Linked DNA regions of Homo sapiens: region 1 is linked to region 2. The links are contacts of gene promoters, found by promoter capture Hi-C in blood cells and fetal thymus (Javierre and others, 2016). All regions are on one chromosome and are shown on one strand. The core of a region is centred on a gene start or on the middle of the fragment in contact, and the rest is flanking DNA. Distances in the headings are between cores, read along the strand shown.

What was found. The method cuts DNA at HindIII sites, captures the fragments that hold promoters and counts their contacts. A CHiCAGO score of 5 or more calls a contact.
Region 1: a fragment that was not itself captured here is called in contact with the fragment with the promoter of PCLAF in region 2 in 1 of 17 cell types (erythroblasts); the score reaches 6.0 in erythroblasts.

Annotation. Positions count from the first base shown.
Region 1 is chr15:64,164,614-64,172,407 of GRCh38, reverse strand. It overlaps CSNK1G1 (casein kinase 1 gamma 1), which reads left to right. Exons shown (of 12, transcript NM_022048.5): 12 at 423-6,883. The coding sequence ends at 477. Among named protein-coding and RNA genes, the nearest start is that of PPIB, 5.5 kb to the right of the region's middle. The HindIII fragment of the contact is 7,083 bases long and covers 1,904-7,794 here.
Region 2 is chr15:64,375,042-64,382,822 of GRCh38, reverse strand. It overlaps PCLAF (PCNA clamp associated factor), which reads left to right and starts at 1,382. Exons shown (of 4, transcript NM_014736.6): 1 at 1,382-1,497; 2 at 1,785-1,865; 3 at 5,918-6,080. The coding sequence starts at 1,452. RefSeq lists an enhancer at 1,211-1,721. The HindIII fragment of the contact is 13,260 bases long and covers 1-7,781 here.

The sequences.
Region 1 (7,794 bases), core at 4,196-6,695, 210 kb after region 2:
GCCAGTGAGTTGAATTAAATAATTGTGCCCTCAGTATCAAGGAGTAGACAATGTAGACTATTTTTATGCAGCCCTGAGGACCCCCAGTCATGACTCTTGATAAGGTGAGGCATCTGGGTTGGGTGCTAAACTATGAGCCTTCTTCACCCTCCTTCCAGTAATGCCTATTTCAGCCCTGCCTAGCCTGCACCATCTTGATAATTAGGTAGGATGACTGCAGATTGAAATCAAGCAGCTATTTCCTTTGGCTTTTCTGGCAGACACTGCCCACTGCCTCCAGTGCGTGCACTGTAGATGGTGGGTGGTCCCTATGGGTGGGTGCTAGGGGGAAAATTCCACCCCTGCAGTAAGCAGAAGCAGGCAGAAGTCTGCTGGAAGCTGCAGGCCTCCCGCACTGACTTGCAATGTTCCTTGTGCTCCAGGTGCTGCTGTTTCTTTAAGAGGAAAAGGAAGAAGACTGCTCAGCGCCACAAGTGACCAGTGCCTCCCAGGAGTCCTCAGGCCCTGGGGACTCTGACTCAATTGTACCTGCAGCTCCTGCCATTTCTCATTGGAAGGGACTCCTCTTTGGGGGAGGGTGGATATCCAAACCAAAAAGAAGAAAACAGATGCCCCCAGAAGGGGCCAGTGCGGGCAGCCAGGGCCTAGTGGGTCATTGGCCATCTCCGCCTGCCTAAGGCTCTGAGCAGGTCCCAGAGCTGCTGTTCCTCCACTGCTTGCCCATAGGGCTGCCTGGTTGACTCTCCTTCCCATTGTTTACAGTGAAGGTGTCATTCACAAAAACTCAAGGACTGCTATTCTCCTTCTTCCCCTTAGTTTACTCCTGGTTTTTACCCCACCCTCAACCCTCTCCAGCATAAAACCTAGTGAGCTAAAGGCTTTGTCTGCAGAAGGAGATCAAGAGGCTGGGGGTAAGGCCAAGAAGGTAGGAGGAAAATGGCAGACCTGGGCTGGAGAAGAACCTTCTCCGTATCCCAGGTGTGCCTGGCAGTATGGTTTCCTCTTCCTCTGTGCCTGTGCAGCATTCATCCCAGCTGGCCTTGGGGTTCAGGTTCCTTCTTCCCTCCCTCCTGTGAAGTTACACTGTAGGACACAAGCTGTGAGCAATCTGCAGTCTACTGTCCCTGTGTGTTGGCGTTCTTAGCTTTTTTGACAAACTCTTTTCTCCAGGTAGTAGGACAATGAAAATTGTTCTAAGCAAAGGAAAGAAAACTGACTTTGTTGCACTTTTAGTTTTTTTAAAAAAAACAAAAACAAAAACATGGCAGATGCATATTGTGTCTGGTTATATTGGGGGTTTTACTTTTACCTGTTTTGAGGGGGATGGGGCCGGCCAAGCCATTCAGAGAGAACATGGGTCCAGAGGACATTCTCAGTGGAAAGAGTTTGATCTGCAGCACCCAGAAGAGAAGCCAAACTCGGTGTCATTCTGAGTGAACACTCAGGTTGGCAAGAAAACATACTTGAATTTTCATTCATCTTCTCAGCAGCTGAAGAATGTCCCTACCAGAGCATCTTGACCTAATCAGCTTACAGTTTGAAAACCTAGCTCTCCAGAACATGAGATGAGCCAGCCGAGCCAGACTGTGACCAGGAAACAGCTCATCCCAGAGAAGGAGATGCTTAACAAAAAAAAATTGAAATTGTTTCCCATGCTGCCAGGGACTTCCAACTAGATAGCCATGTGACGTCCTGGTGACTTGGGGGAAAAATTAGTGATGAAACAGCCACCACCATATTGCCATTAGTGGAAAAAAAGAGGACAGTGAACCTGCCTTCCACCTGCCAGAGGGACCTCAGGGTGTGGCATTATAGGGCCAGGAAAAGAAAATCGGTGTATCCTATCTGCCCCAATAGCTGAGCTGTAGCATTTGGGCTGGCCTGCCTTATCAGAAACCAAGCTTATGAAGATCTTCTCCCAGCAGGTCCATAGCAGTAGGCTTAGGATGCAGTATATGGGGCCGCATTTAAAAGGAGGGAAAGATTGTTTGGTGCTGGAACATTCCAGGGAAAAGGAGACTGGAATGAAAGGTCTGAAATTATCTTCTCAATTGGACTCCTTCCAGAAAGGTGGCCGTGCCTCTAAGCATGTTTTTCCCAGTATGCCCTAGGCCTCCCCCCATGGTGTTTTCATATGAGGTACTACTGTGAAGGATCTGGTTCCTCATTCACTGTTTGACAAGTCTTTCATGTGTGGAGTTACTCTTCTCATGCCCAATTTTCATTTGAGTTTAGTGGCTTAACCAAACAATGACTCCTCATTCCAGCGGTGACAGAAGAGAAAGGGTCATTTACATCAGGAAAGAGGTCTTGTATCTGGGAGTAGAGAGCTAACCATGGAGCACAGTGGCTGGTGGGTGACTTAGTCTGATGGTTTGTGGACCATAGAAGTCTTCACCTCTGGTTTGAGGTGCAGGGCTGTCTTTTGTACTGGAGGGTGTGGGGATATTTTCTGATAGTTGCCATTTCTTGAAAAATTCCCTTGATGTACCTTACACAGAGCAGAAATAACATTAACATGGATCAGAGGTACTGGGCTTCATCTGTTCCATTGGACCTTGGCTAGGGAATATCATTTCACTGGCATCAAACCTGCTTAGCTTATGAAAAGATGGTAATATGTCATTTCTATAAATGTTTCTATATATGAAACATAAAGTGGCAGGGAGATACAATATCACACCCCTTCCCCACAAGGACTGTGAATATTGGGATTTATGTCCTTGCCATTACCTAGTGGTTACAGCCCTATCACTAAAATTTACATCGTTTCTCAGTTGGGATTTGGGCATTGCTAACTTACTGTATAGAAAGTTTAACTTTTCCTCACCCCTGTATAGAAAATGCCTTGCCTCTCAAGAGAGGGCAGAGGGGGGGCCAGGTGCAGTGGCTCACGCCTGTAATCCCAGCAGTTTGGGAGGCCAAGGCAAGTGGATCATGTGAGGTCAAGAGTTCGAGACCAGCCTGGCCAACATGGTGAAACCCCGTCTCTACAAAAAATACAAAAATTAGCTGGGCATGGTGGCATGCTCCCGTAGTCCCAGCTACTCGGGAGGCTGAGGCAGGAGAATCACTTGAGCCTGGGAGGCAGAAGTTGCAGTGAGCCGAGATCGCACCACTGCACTCCAGCCTGGGCAACAGAGTGAGACTCTGTCTAAAAAGAAAAAAAAAAAAGGGCAGAGGGAAATGGTGGGAATGCCTGGAGCATCCTGGCACTCTATACTCTACTGAGTGCCTCTCTTCAGCCCCTCACCCTGCTTCCACACACACACACACAAAAGCAAAGGCACTGACCAGCTTGGCTGCAGGGCAAGCTGCCTTGCAGCTGGATTTGCGACTTTTTTTTTGTCTTAAAATTTTTACTGGATCAGTTGTAGGGGACTGTACTTCCTAAGACACTGTTCTCACCTTCCAACCTCACAAATCTCTTACTAGATATTTGGTTTTTATAACAAGGGTAAAGAATCCCAGGTCCCTTTAGCATGCAGAGTAATGGTGATCCCTCCAGAGCCATTGGCACTTCAAAGTGGTCCCAGACCTGGGAGATTCTGGTGGGATCTTCCTTAAAAATAAGCAAAAAACCTGAGTACCCTAGATGCAATTGGCCATTTGTTTCAGGCCCATCAGCGAATCAGGGCTCCCTCCTCAACCCTACTGCTACAGTTCCTTAGCTGTATGCCTCAGCCAGATCCTTGGGGTTAGGGCATGCACTCGCTGACTGTCCCCACCCATCCACTTGCTCTGTAGTTTCTGAGCTTTCTCCATTTCACAAGTATGGTGCCTAACGATCTTTTTCTTTAGGATTGATGCAGTTGTTTTTCCTGAAAGCTAACTCAGCATCTATTCATAAAAACCCTTAATAGTATACATTAGGAGTTTTCCCAAGCTCTACAGTCCCTCAGACATTGCATCCTAAACAGATTTGAGGCACACAGGCCAAGACTCCACCAAGGCATAAATGGTCCCCCCTACTCCCTTTTGACCAGGGTATCACTTGTGTCTCTGCAGTAAGAGTTGGTCAAGTTGCTCTACGCACCTTGGTGCTTTCCAGAGATCTCACTCCAGACTGCCCCCAAGGGTGGATAGAGTATCCTGACAGCCAGTGTGCACTCATGACTGCCTTAATTAACATTCTTCTGCTATTATGGAGCCTGTCCAGCAATAAACAGGGTCTAGGAAGGTACAAGATTAGCTTCCAGTTAAAATCCCATTTTATATTGGAATGCATGAGCTACAGATGACAGCAGAGATCCTGAGGTTTCTAGACATGTTGATTGTCTCTTTTTTCTAAATGAACTCCAAGTACTTAGAAAACAGTCCCTGTCCATCAGCCAGAAAAGGTGACCATCACCCCTAAAGTAATTTCCAAACTTAGTTCAGTGGGAAGATATGCTGGTAGTGCATATTCAGTGTTGATTTTCAGTGCTAGTAACCACTTTTAATGCCAGAAATATGTAACAATGATAATGTAACGTCAAAGTGGTTACTAAAGATTATAGCCTTAACTTTTTTATGTAAAAGATAAAATCCATTCCTCCTCCCAGTGAGCAAGCATGGCTTGCATTTCTCAAAAATGAGAACTTCCATGGCAGCCAAGAAAACGTCTTCTCAGAGGAACTTTCGTTTGATGCATCTCCCAAGCCCACATGCCTCCTGTGTTCCAGCCACCTCTTCCATTTCACATTTAAACCAGCTCTCCATTCCCATTGAGTTGCCCTAACAACATTGTCTCCAGTGTCAGAACCATATTAAGGTTCGTTTCTCAGATTGGGAGCCTGCAACACCATACAGCCAACATTGCCTTTGCCACGCCACTGCCACCATCCCCACCATTGCCCTATGGTGGGCAGATGAATTCCAGAAACCCTCAGGGAGCCAGGATAATTAGGCAACCCATCTGAATTGGCCACGTAAGTGACAGGCACTTATCTCTCGGGTTCTTGCTTTTGCAGACTCCAGGGAAGTCCTGTCTAGAGGTCGATGGCAGAGACTCCTAGTCTTTCCCATGAGGGGTTGATAGGAATCAAATTGGGATTCCTTTGGCTTTGGGTTTTGTTTTTTTGTTGTTGTTTTTGGTTTTCAGTTTGTTTTTTGGTGTATGGGGGGTGATTTTGTTTCTGAATAAGAAAAAGAAGAGGCAACCATGGCCCTTATGTGGGTTTATCCTTTTTGAGCAATGTTTTAGCCACAAGTAAGGAATCTTGAAAGTCTTTTGTCCAGCAAGCAGTCTTAAAAATGTTTTTCCTAACTCCTTTTGCAGGTGACTAAGTACAAAAAAATAGTTTTCTCATTGTATTCAAAATAGTGAGTAGGTTCCCTGGATAATACACAGTGGTAGTTGACATATTTTCTCAAAACACAACCAGAAAACCCACTTCCGGTATTTGTAAATCACCTTTCAAGGGAAAAAGTGAACACGTATTCCTTGTATTTCTAGTTTGATTACCAAACCTGATGTTACAAAGAAACCTCCGTTCTGTAGACAGAATTTCTTTTATTTTTCTTCTTTTACTCCTCACAATCACTTTCCCAGTGCCATCACCATCTATAAGGTCTCAGAGCAGAGGATTATTCATGGTAATAAGTGGGGGTGTGGTGCAGCCATTCCAGTAACACCCACAAGAGGACAGCTGTTCTGAATGTCCCCACCCACCCCTCTTTCAGTACAGGTGAGACATTTTCAGTTCATGAGCTCCAGACCAAATCCCAGGCCAGCCCTTGCACCAAAAGCCTTTTTTAGAAGGCTTATCAGTCTATTAGGAATGTCTCAGGAAAGATGAGCCATTTCTTTGGGGAGAAATATATTTACAGATGGAAGTGTGTGACTGCGTGTCTGTGTGTGTGTGTGGTGTGTGTGCGCACGTGAGTGCGTGTGTTCATCTATGTGCATTTCACTTCCATAAAGACCCAGCCCAAGCTGCTGGGAACCATGTGTTCCTGAGTATTCTCAGAGGTTAAACAAGTGACAAGTGAGCTTCTGAAATTAGTGTCTCAGCAAGCTGGCTTTAGGAATGAGCCCCATTTTATCAAGCAGAGAAAAAAAATAACAGCAGAAAAGATAAAGATAAACCAAAAATATATACCCCCCAATGGAAAATAATGTTGATTCAGCAATTCCCATAGGATGTATTACATGCTCTAATTTATTATATTATTATTTATCTGTCTTTGATCTTTGCCCATTGTACTCTTAAAAAGATGTTGGGATGTTGATTGCGATTTTTAAACAACTAGATAATGTATAAATCAGCAGTGGAAATCAGTTTTAATGTGTGGATGTGTCTGATTATTGTTAAATGCCTCTTTTTTTACTTTTTTTTTTTTTAGATGTATAATGTTTCATAAACCCTGGCACTGGTCACAAAGCTCAGCTGTGAAAATGAAATTTGTAGTATTTTTAAACATGAATGTCAATTTCAAGTGTATTTGAAATGGTTCCTCCAGGAGAGATATTTGTGCACCATTAGGAAAATCTTCTCTGCAGAGGAAGTAGCCTTCTTTGGAGAAAATGGAAAATGGGTTCTGATATGTGATCTCAGAGTAGCCCATTTCCTAGGGCACCATGGAAAACACAAATGTGATCTTTAAGTATACCTCTTCCCCAGTTTGGGGAGGAAAGGACTCAGTTTGCACCCTTTTTGTATGTAAAATAAAATGTCTTACCTTTCTTGGCTACTTCTGCTTGTTTGGTTGGTTGATTGGTTTGTCTGTTTTTAATCTCCCTCGGCTCATTTGTAATTAACAATCTAGCTAGGACTAACTTTGATGCGATTCAAGACTCCTGTGAACAAAAATAATTTGGCATTCTTGTTTCATTCCTTGGATTAAATATTGTCTTCTCCTGTGAGTCACTTCAAAAATAAATACTGCTGTCTCTCTTCGAGTGCTGAAGAAGAAAATTATTTTTTAATTAAAAAAATAAATATTGGCCAGGCGCAGTGGCTCTCACCTGTAATCCCAGCAACTCCGGGAGGCCAAGGCGGGTGGATCATTTGAGGTCAGGAGTTCGAGGCCAGCCTGGCCAACATGGTGAAACCCTGTCACTACTAAAAATACAAAATTAGTTGGGCGTGGTGGTGCACACCTGTAATCCCAGCTACTCAGGAGGCTGAGGCAGGCCAATTGCTTGAATCCAGGAGGTGGAGTTTGCAATGAGCCAAGATCGCACCACTGTACTCCAGCATGGACGTCAGAGCAAGACTCCGTCTCAAATAAATAAATATTCCTGGAAGAATTTGGACATTATCACTCATACGTTAGTTCCTGGGTCCCTGTTGTTCTCAGGTGGTAGAACACAGGAAATCAGGATCTGCTCTGTGGAACAACTTTAGTAGCTTTATAATTCTCCTCTACAAATGCGGAATATGTGTCCAGACAGAAGATAGAACTATGATGAGCAATGTAAAACCATACTGCATATGTAGCCAACAGAACAACTGTCAATCTGGGCATGATTGACTCCTTCCAGTTTGTTACTACTCTTTAATTACTTTTTCACAGGCAGGTAGCAGTGGAAGAATCATGAGAGAAAAGTTTCACATTGAGAGCATTTTATCCATCAACCTGATTTCTTTTGAAAGTGGGAGTGGGAGAAAGGCTGCTGTGATGCCATTTTAGCCTTAGCTCCTCATGTGCAGGAGGCTACTTGGGTTTTTTGAGTGTTTCTTTGTTTTTGAGACAGGGTGGAGTGCAGTTTCACGATCACAGTACACTGCAGCCTTGACCTTCTGGGCTCAGGTGATTCCCCCACCTCAGCCTCTGGGGTAGCTGCGACTACAGATGCGCACCACCACG
Region 2 (7,781 bases), core at 133-2,632:
TTTTTATTTTAGTAGAGACTGGGTTTCACCATGTTGCCCACGCTGGTCTCGAACTCCTGAGCTCAGGCAATCTGCCTGCCTCGGCCTCCCAAAGTGCTAGGATTACAGGTGTGAGCCACCATGCCTGACCGATTCTGTTTTATGTATGGTATTTAGAGAGTGAAAATCACTCCCCAGGGGTGTTGTGAGTAATTAGAAGGTAAGCATAAAGATAGAAAAAAATTATGACCCTTTATCCTAGAGTTATGCTCACTGTGTGACAGCGATGTGGTCTTACCACATTTGGCAGGGTCTTTTCGTTTCGTTTCGTTTCATTTCATTTCCTTGCCTTGCCTTGCCTTTCTTTTCTTTTTTCTTTTCTTTTCTTTCTTTCTTTTCTTTTCTTTCTTTCTTTCTTTTTTTTTTTTGAGACAGGATCTCGCTCTGTCGCCCAGGCTGGAGTGCATGGTGTGATTATGGCTCACTGCAACCTCTCCCTCCTAGGCACAAGCAATCTCCCGTCTCCTGAACTCAAGCCATCCTCCCACCTCAGCCTCCCGAGTAGTTGGGATTACAGGAACATGCCACTGCACCCGGCTAATTTTTGTATATTTTTTGTAGAGACGGGTTTCACCGTGTTGGTCAGGCTGGTCTCGACCTCCTGGGGTCAAGCGATCTGCCCGCCTCGGCCTCTCAAAGTGCTGGGATTACAGCCATGAGTCCCCGCTCCTGGCAGATTTGGCAGATTATTTAGGAGCTCTGACACCATTCGGTTCTCAAGAAGACGTTTTATTAGTTTCTTTTTATGTGTGTATGTATATACAATCCCCCTAGTTTTTGTTTAGTCTCACATCATCCTAAAGACATTTAAAAAAACCCTTGTAAACAAGTTGTATTAGCTTCCTTTTCCCCATTCCATAGAATTGTTTTAGTATGGATGCTGTACAAAGAGTTCATGCCTGGGGGACTAAAGGAAAGTTCTCAAGTTCTTTTAATTTTGATTTGCATCAAAAAGTCCGCTTAATTTCAGGTTTCACCTCCAGGAGTCAATCATTATGGACTTAAAGCTATAGTAACTTTTGAAGATCGTTTGTAATTCGCTGTCTTTGCTAGGTTTTCTTTTCTAAGCAGGCTCATTTCTGTAGTTCAGAAACTTAGCACCCACTAGTCGGGTACCCCTGGAGAGTCCTGGTACCGCCCACCTGGGGCGCCTACGAATCCTAGGCCTTTGCGTGTTGATGGACGGATTCGCGCTGCAAGAAGCCTCGCCGCTGTCACCACTGGGCATTGGCAATTGGTTCAGGGGGAACGGCGCGGAACCAATGGGAGCGGTGGCTCGGGAGAGACCTTGGAGCGCGCGGGAAAGAGACCAATATAAACTGTGGCGGGATAGTTTTCGGGTCCTTGTCCAGTGAAACACCCTCGGCTGGGAAGTCAGTTCGTTCTCTCCTCTCCTCTCTTCTTGTTTGAACATGGTGCGGACTAAAGCAGACAGTGTTCCAGGCACTTACAGAAAAGGTGAGGCGATCGAGTGTGGTACTGGAGGGCGGGGGGGTCCTCCCGGCAGCCTGGCCACGGGCGACAGACGCCAGAGGTCCCCCTGGGCCCTGTGCGCCAAACTCATCTAGCTAGCCAGGGAGTAGCCGCCTGGCCCCTTTACCTAGAAGAGGAAGTCGCAGGGGCAGGGTAAGGTTATCCTGCTGTTCTGGATCGCCAGGCTCTCCTCTCCAAGCTGCTGGGGTCCAGGACTCGGTGTCGGAACCCTCCTGCCCCTTCTGAACACCCTTTTTTGCCTCTCTTCACAGTGGTGGCTGCTCGAGCCCCCAGAAAGGTGCTTGGTTCTTCCACCTCTGCCACTAATTCGACATCAGTTTCATCGAGGAAAGGTAAGAAGAGCCCTCCTAAAGTTAGGGGATCAGTCCTGGCACCTGCAAGCCCCTGGCTTGCCATGAATTTCTTTTTCTTGAGGTACTCACGCCCGAATTTCTTCCTTGCCCTGTGATATAATAAGAGAGGCTGGGCCTTTTGGCCGGCTAGGGTAGAGGTGGGGGGGAGGTCTCATGGAAGGGAATTTCAAGCCTTGGAGTTAAGGACCGACACACCTTATCTTCAAGCCTATTTTTCTTTTCTTTTCTTTTTTTAGACAGGGCCTCTCTTTGTTGCTCAGGTTGGAGTGCAGTGGTGCAATCACTGGTCACTACATCCTCCACTTATGGGGCTTAAGCAATCCTCCCACCTCAGCCTCCAAAGTAGCTGGGGCTACAGGTACATGCCACCACGCCGGGCTTTTTTTTCTATTTTTTGTAGAGATGGGGGTCTCACTATGTTGCCTAAGCTGGTCTCAAACTCCTGGGCTCAAACAATCCTCCTACTGGGATTACAGGCATGAGCCACCACAGCCAGCCTATCAATTTTTGTTTTTTGGTTTAGTATTTTCCTTTTTCTTTCTCTTTCTTTTTTTGAGACAGAGTCTTGCACTGTTGCCCAGGCTGCAGTGCAACGGTGTGATCTTGGTTCACTGCAACCTCCGCCTCTCGGGTTCACACGATTCTCCTGCCTCTGCCTCCTGAGTAGCTGGGATTACAGGTGCACGCCACCACACCCAGCTAATTTTTTTGTATTTTTAGTAGAGATGGGGTTTCACTATGTTGGCCAGACTGATCTCAAACTCCTGACCTCATGATCTGCCTGCCTCAGCTTCCCAAAGTGATGGGAACACAGACGTGATCCACCACGCCCAGCTATTATTTTTCTTAATAATAACAGAGGCTATTTAAATATTGTTAGAGGCTATTTAAAAGCCCCCTTAGTAGATTAAGGGTTTGAACAATCGTTAACAGTGCTGAGTGCTCATTGCAATGTCTACTAAACTTTAATAAAAATGTTTTTGTTTTTGTTTGCTTGTTTTTCCTTTCTTCCTTACTCTTTTTTGTTTGTTTGTTTGTTTGAGTATGATGTCTGTGGGTTTTCTCCAACTTTGCAGCTCCTAATACTGTCTTTGGGAGAGTAGGAGTGAAACCCGGCAAAGGAAATAGCTTCACGCTGCTCCTTCTGTGCGTGGAGTAGATGAGAAAATGCCCTGCCATCTGGTGCCTCATTCCTTTCAGTAGGAAATTTGGCAGACAGGGAGATTAACGCTACAAGATTTAATTAAGAACATAAAGGTGAACACTGTTTAGGACTTCATGGGTTTTAAAGTCAATTCAAATTTCTCCCTATTATAAACATTTCATTAGAAAACATTTACTATTTCTATCTCTTCAGATAAAAGGAAATAGAAGTTGATGAATTTTTTTAGAGTAACTTATACCCTGTACCACTAGACTAAGTTTCTTTTTCTTTTCTTTTTTCTTTTTTTTTTTTGAGACAGGGTCTCACTCTGTTGCCCAGGCTTGAGTGCAGTGGTGCAATCACAGCTTACTGCAGATTTGACCCCAGGGTTCAAATGATCCTCCCACTTCAGGCTCTTCCCAAGTAGCTGGGACTGTAGGCGCATGCCACCACACGCCCGCCTAATTTTTGTGTTTTTTGTAGAGATGGGGTTTCATCACATTGCCCAGGCTGGTCTCGAACTCCTGGGCTGAAGCAATCCTCCCGCCTCAGCCTACCAAAGTGCTGGGATTACAGACGTGAGCCACCACGCCTGGCCTGATGAAATTTCATTAGAGCCGCATCTCATCGTCTGGTCCACTGTTGAATCACCAGAGCCAACTAAATAGGCCCTTACTGAATATATGTTGAATAAATGCATCCTTTAAGGCATTTTAAAAATCTCTATTTTTAATCCGAATAATTGGATGTATGAAATGGGTAATATCCTTATTTTAAAGATAAGGAAATTTAATATCTGGTTATATAACTTGATAAAGGTCACACAACTAAATCAGTGGAGTTGGGTTTGAACCTGTTGCTGCTATATTTTTTTTTTTTTCTGAGACACAGTCTCGCTCTGTCACCCAGGCTGGAGTGCAGTGGCATGAACTCGGCTCACTGCAACCTCCGCCTCCCGGGTTCAAGCAATTCTTCTGCCTCAGCCTCCTAAGTAGCTGGGATTACAGGCATGCGCCACCATGCCTGGCTAAATTTTGTATCTTTAGTGGAGGCAGGGTTTCACCATGTTGGCCAGGCTGTTCTCAAATGCCTGACCTCATGATCCAACTGCCTCGGCCTCACAAAGTGCTGGGATTACAGGCGTGAGCCACTGCGCCCAGCTGCTGCTGTATGTTTTCTAGTAGTAAAAGCATTCCTGTAAGGTTCCTTTGGGAAAACTGTGAACCAAAAGATCACTATCTTTTATATGCCATTCCTTCTTTTGGAGGCGAAGGCGGGACGGTTGCCTCAGCCAGGAGTTTGAGACCAGCCTGGACAACGTGGCAAAACCCCATTGCTATTTTTATAAATGTAAATAAATAAGTAGAAACAATATAACTTCAGAGTCTATATGGAAACAACTTTTGTAAGCATTCTTTAACAACTAGAGTTGTTAAAGCAAATGTTTTAGCTTAAAGCAAAAGATTTGCAGTAACTGAATAATTTGTTCCTGGTCATTACTTTATAAAAAGGCAAGAATTTTCCCTCAATTTCTCCTTATATTACTGTTGAAAAATAACCAGGAATTGGCCGGGCAGGGTGGCTCACACTTGTAATCCCAGCACTTTGGGAGGCCAAGGCGGGCGGATCATGAGGTCAGGAGATCGAGACCATCCTAGCATGGTGAAACCCTGTCTCTACTAAAAGTACAAAAAATTAGCCAGGTGTGGTGGCGGGCGCCTGTAGTCCCAACTGCTCGGGAGGCTGAGGCAGGAGAATGGCATGAACCCGGGAGGCGGAGCTTGCAGTGAGCCAAGATCGTGCCACTGCACTGCAGCCTGGGTGACAGAGTGAGACTCTGTCTCCCCCCCAAAAAAACAAAAACAAAACAAAAATTAGCTGGGCGTGGTGGCGGGCGCCTGTAATCCCTGCTACTCGGGAGGCTGAGGCAGGAGAATCACTTGAATCCGGGAGGCAGAGGTTACAGTAAGCCAAGATTGCGCCACTGCACTCCAGCCTGGGTGACAGAGCTAGACTTTGAAAAAAAAAAAAAAAAAAAAAAAAAACACCAGGAATTGGACTTCTCTTATGAACTGAAAAGGAGCCAGGTGCTTTGAAAAATGGAATCTACTTTTGTGGAGACTTTCACATTGCCTCTTATATGTGCTTTAACTAAATGACCTTAGTAAGTAAAATGTTGGCACTTTATACTACATGGTCCTATCTTATGTTAGGAAAAAGTGTGTCAAACTTCAGTATGTCAGTACATACAAGAATATATATATATATATATATATATATATATATATATATATATATATATATTTTTTTTTTTTTTTTTTTGAGACAGAGTCTCGCTCTGTTGCCAGACTGGAGTGTGCAGTGGCGGCGCAATCTTGGCTCACTGCAACCTCCGACTCGCTGGTTCAAGTGATTCTCCTGCCTCAGCCTCCCAAGTAGCTGGGAATACAGGCACGTGCCGCCACACCCAGCTAATTTTTGTATTTTTAGTAGAGACGGGGGTTTCACCATGTTGTCCAGGTTGGTCTCGAACTCCTGACCTTGTGATCCACCCTCCTCAGCCTCCCAAAGTGCTGGGATTACAGGCGTGAGCCACTGGACCCGGCAAGAGTATTTGAATAGCTCTGCTTGTGGACAAAATATAAAAATATTTTTCAGTTGTAAAAATTCTGTTACTACTGTTATTGCTAAGATAACCATCACACTGAGTTTATTGGTGGAATACAGCTTTATTGTGTCACATTTTCTAATTCTTTAAGTTGTATATCTTAAATAAAGATTATTTAATACCTTTGAGAATTTGATGTTAAAGAAGGAATTAAGTTGTTTAAGGAATAGAGATTGTATTATTAGCACTTATCTAGTTCCATCTGTTTATATTTTACAGCTGAAAATAAATATGCAGGAGGGAACCCCGTTTGCGTGCGCCCAACTCCCAAGTGGCAAAAAGGAATTGGAGAATTCTTTAGGTTGTCCCCTAAAGATTCTGAAAAAGAGAATCAGATTCCTGAAGAGGCAGGAAGCAGTGGCTTAGGAAAAGCAAAGAGAAAGTAAGTTTTTATATTCTGGAATATAAAGAAAATATTTATCTCACGCCTGTAATCCCAGCACTTTGGGAGGCCGAGGCGGGAGGATCACTTGAGGCCAGGAGTTCAAAACCAGCCTGTCCAACATGGTGGAACCCTGTCTCTACTAAAAATACAAAATTAGCTCGGCGTGCTGGTGCACACCTGTTGTCCTAGCTATTTGGGAGGCTCAAACAAAAGAATTGCTTGGTGCAGCAAACCACCATGCACACATATACCTATATAACAAACTTGCATGTAATGCACATGTATCTCATTTTCACGCCACTGCCCTCCAGTCTGGGGGACAGAGTGAGACTCTGTCTCAAATAAAAAATTAATTAATTAATTAATAAAGAAAATATCTTGAAAATAAAGGACAAATAGGATATTGAGTCAAGTTTCTCTTCAAGCTCATAAGAAAATGCAAAAAAAGTTTTTAAAAACTTCTTCTAATTTCTTATTATAACTCACTCCCAAATTTCTTTTCTTTTTTTTTTCCTGAGACGGAGTCTTGCTCTGTTGCCCAGGCTAGAGGGCAGTGGCGCTATCTCAGCTCACTGCAACCTCCGCCTCCCAGGTTCAAGCAATTTTCCTGCCTCAGCCTCCCAAGTAGCTGGGATTACAGGCACACGCCACCACGCCCAGCTAATTTTTGTATTTTTAGTAGAGACAGGGTTTTGCCTTGTTGGCCAGGCTGGTCTTGAACTCTTGACTTTGTGATCTACCCACCTTAGCCTCCCAAAGTACTGGGATTACAGGCGTGAGCCACTGCATCCAGCCAGCAAATTTCAAACATTAGTAAAAAGTATTCTTTTTACTCTTCCCAATCTCTCAAAGAGGATCAGTTCCCATTCACATAAGTGCTATGTCATTAACCATGAACTTAGTGTATTGAGTCTTTAATTCTTACTGTCTTTTTCCTTTAGGCTTTTCTTACAAGGCAATTTCCTTGTTGGCTTATATAACTTGAATTCCATTAATCCTGTCCCTTAAAAAACTACCAGTTCAACTTGCACAAGAAATATATAACCAGGCTGTGTGCGGTGGCTCATGCCTGTAATCCTAGCACTTTGGGAGGCTACAGTGGGCAGATCGCTTGAGCTCAGGAGTTCCAGACCAGCCTGGGCAACATGGTGAAACCCCTTCTCTACCAAAAGGGTGGCGGCGCCGCCTATAATCCCAGCCACTAGGGAGGCTGAGGTGGGAGAATTGCTTGACCCTGGGAGATGAAGGTTGCAGTGAGCCGAGATCCCGCCACTGTACTCCAGCATGGGTGGCAGAGTGAGGACCTGTCTCAAAAATAGGCCTGGCACAGTGGCTCACCTCTGTAATCCCAGCACTTTGAGAGTCCAAGGCAGGCAGATCACAAGATCAAGAGATCGAGACCATCCTGCAACATGGTGAAACCCCGTCTCTACTAAAAATACAAAAAATTAGCCGGGCGTGGTGGCACGTGCCTGTAATCTCAGCTACTCGGGAGGCTGAAGCAGGAGAATTGCTTGAACCTGAAAGGTGTTGGTTGCAGTGAGCTGAGATCGCACCACTGCACTCCAGCCTGGGGGACAGAGCGAGACTCCATCTCAAAAAAAATCAAGTAAAATAAAAATAAAAATATGACCAATATGGAAAAGTTGGAAAATATAGAAATCCCCATCACCTAGAACCAACTAGGAATAATACCAT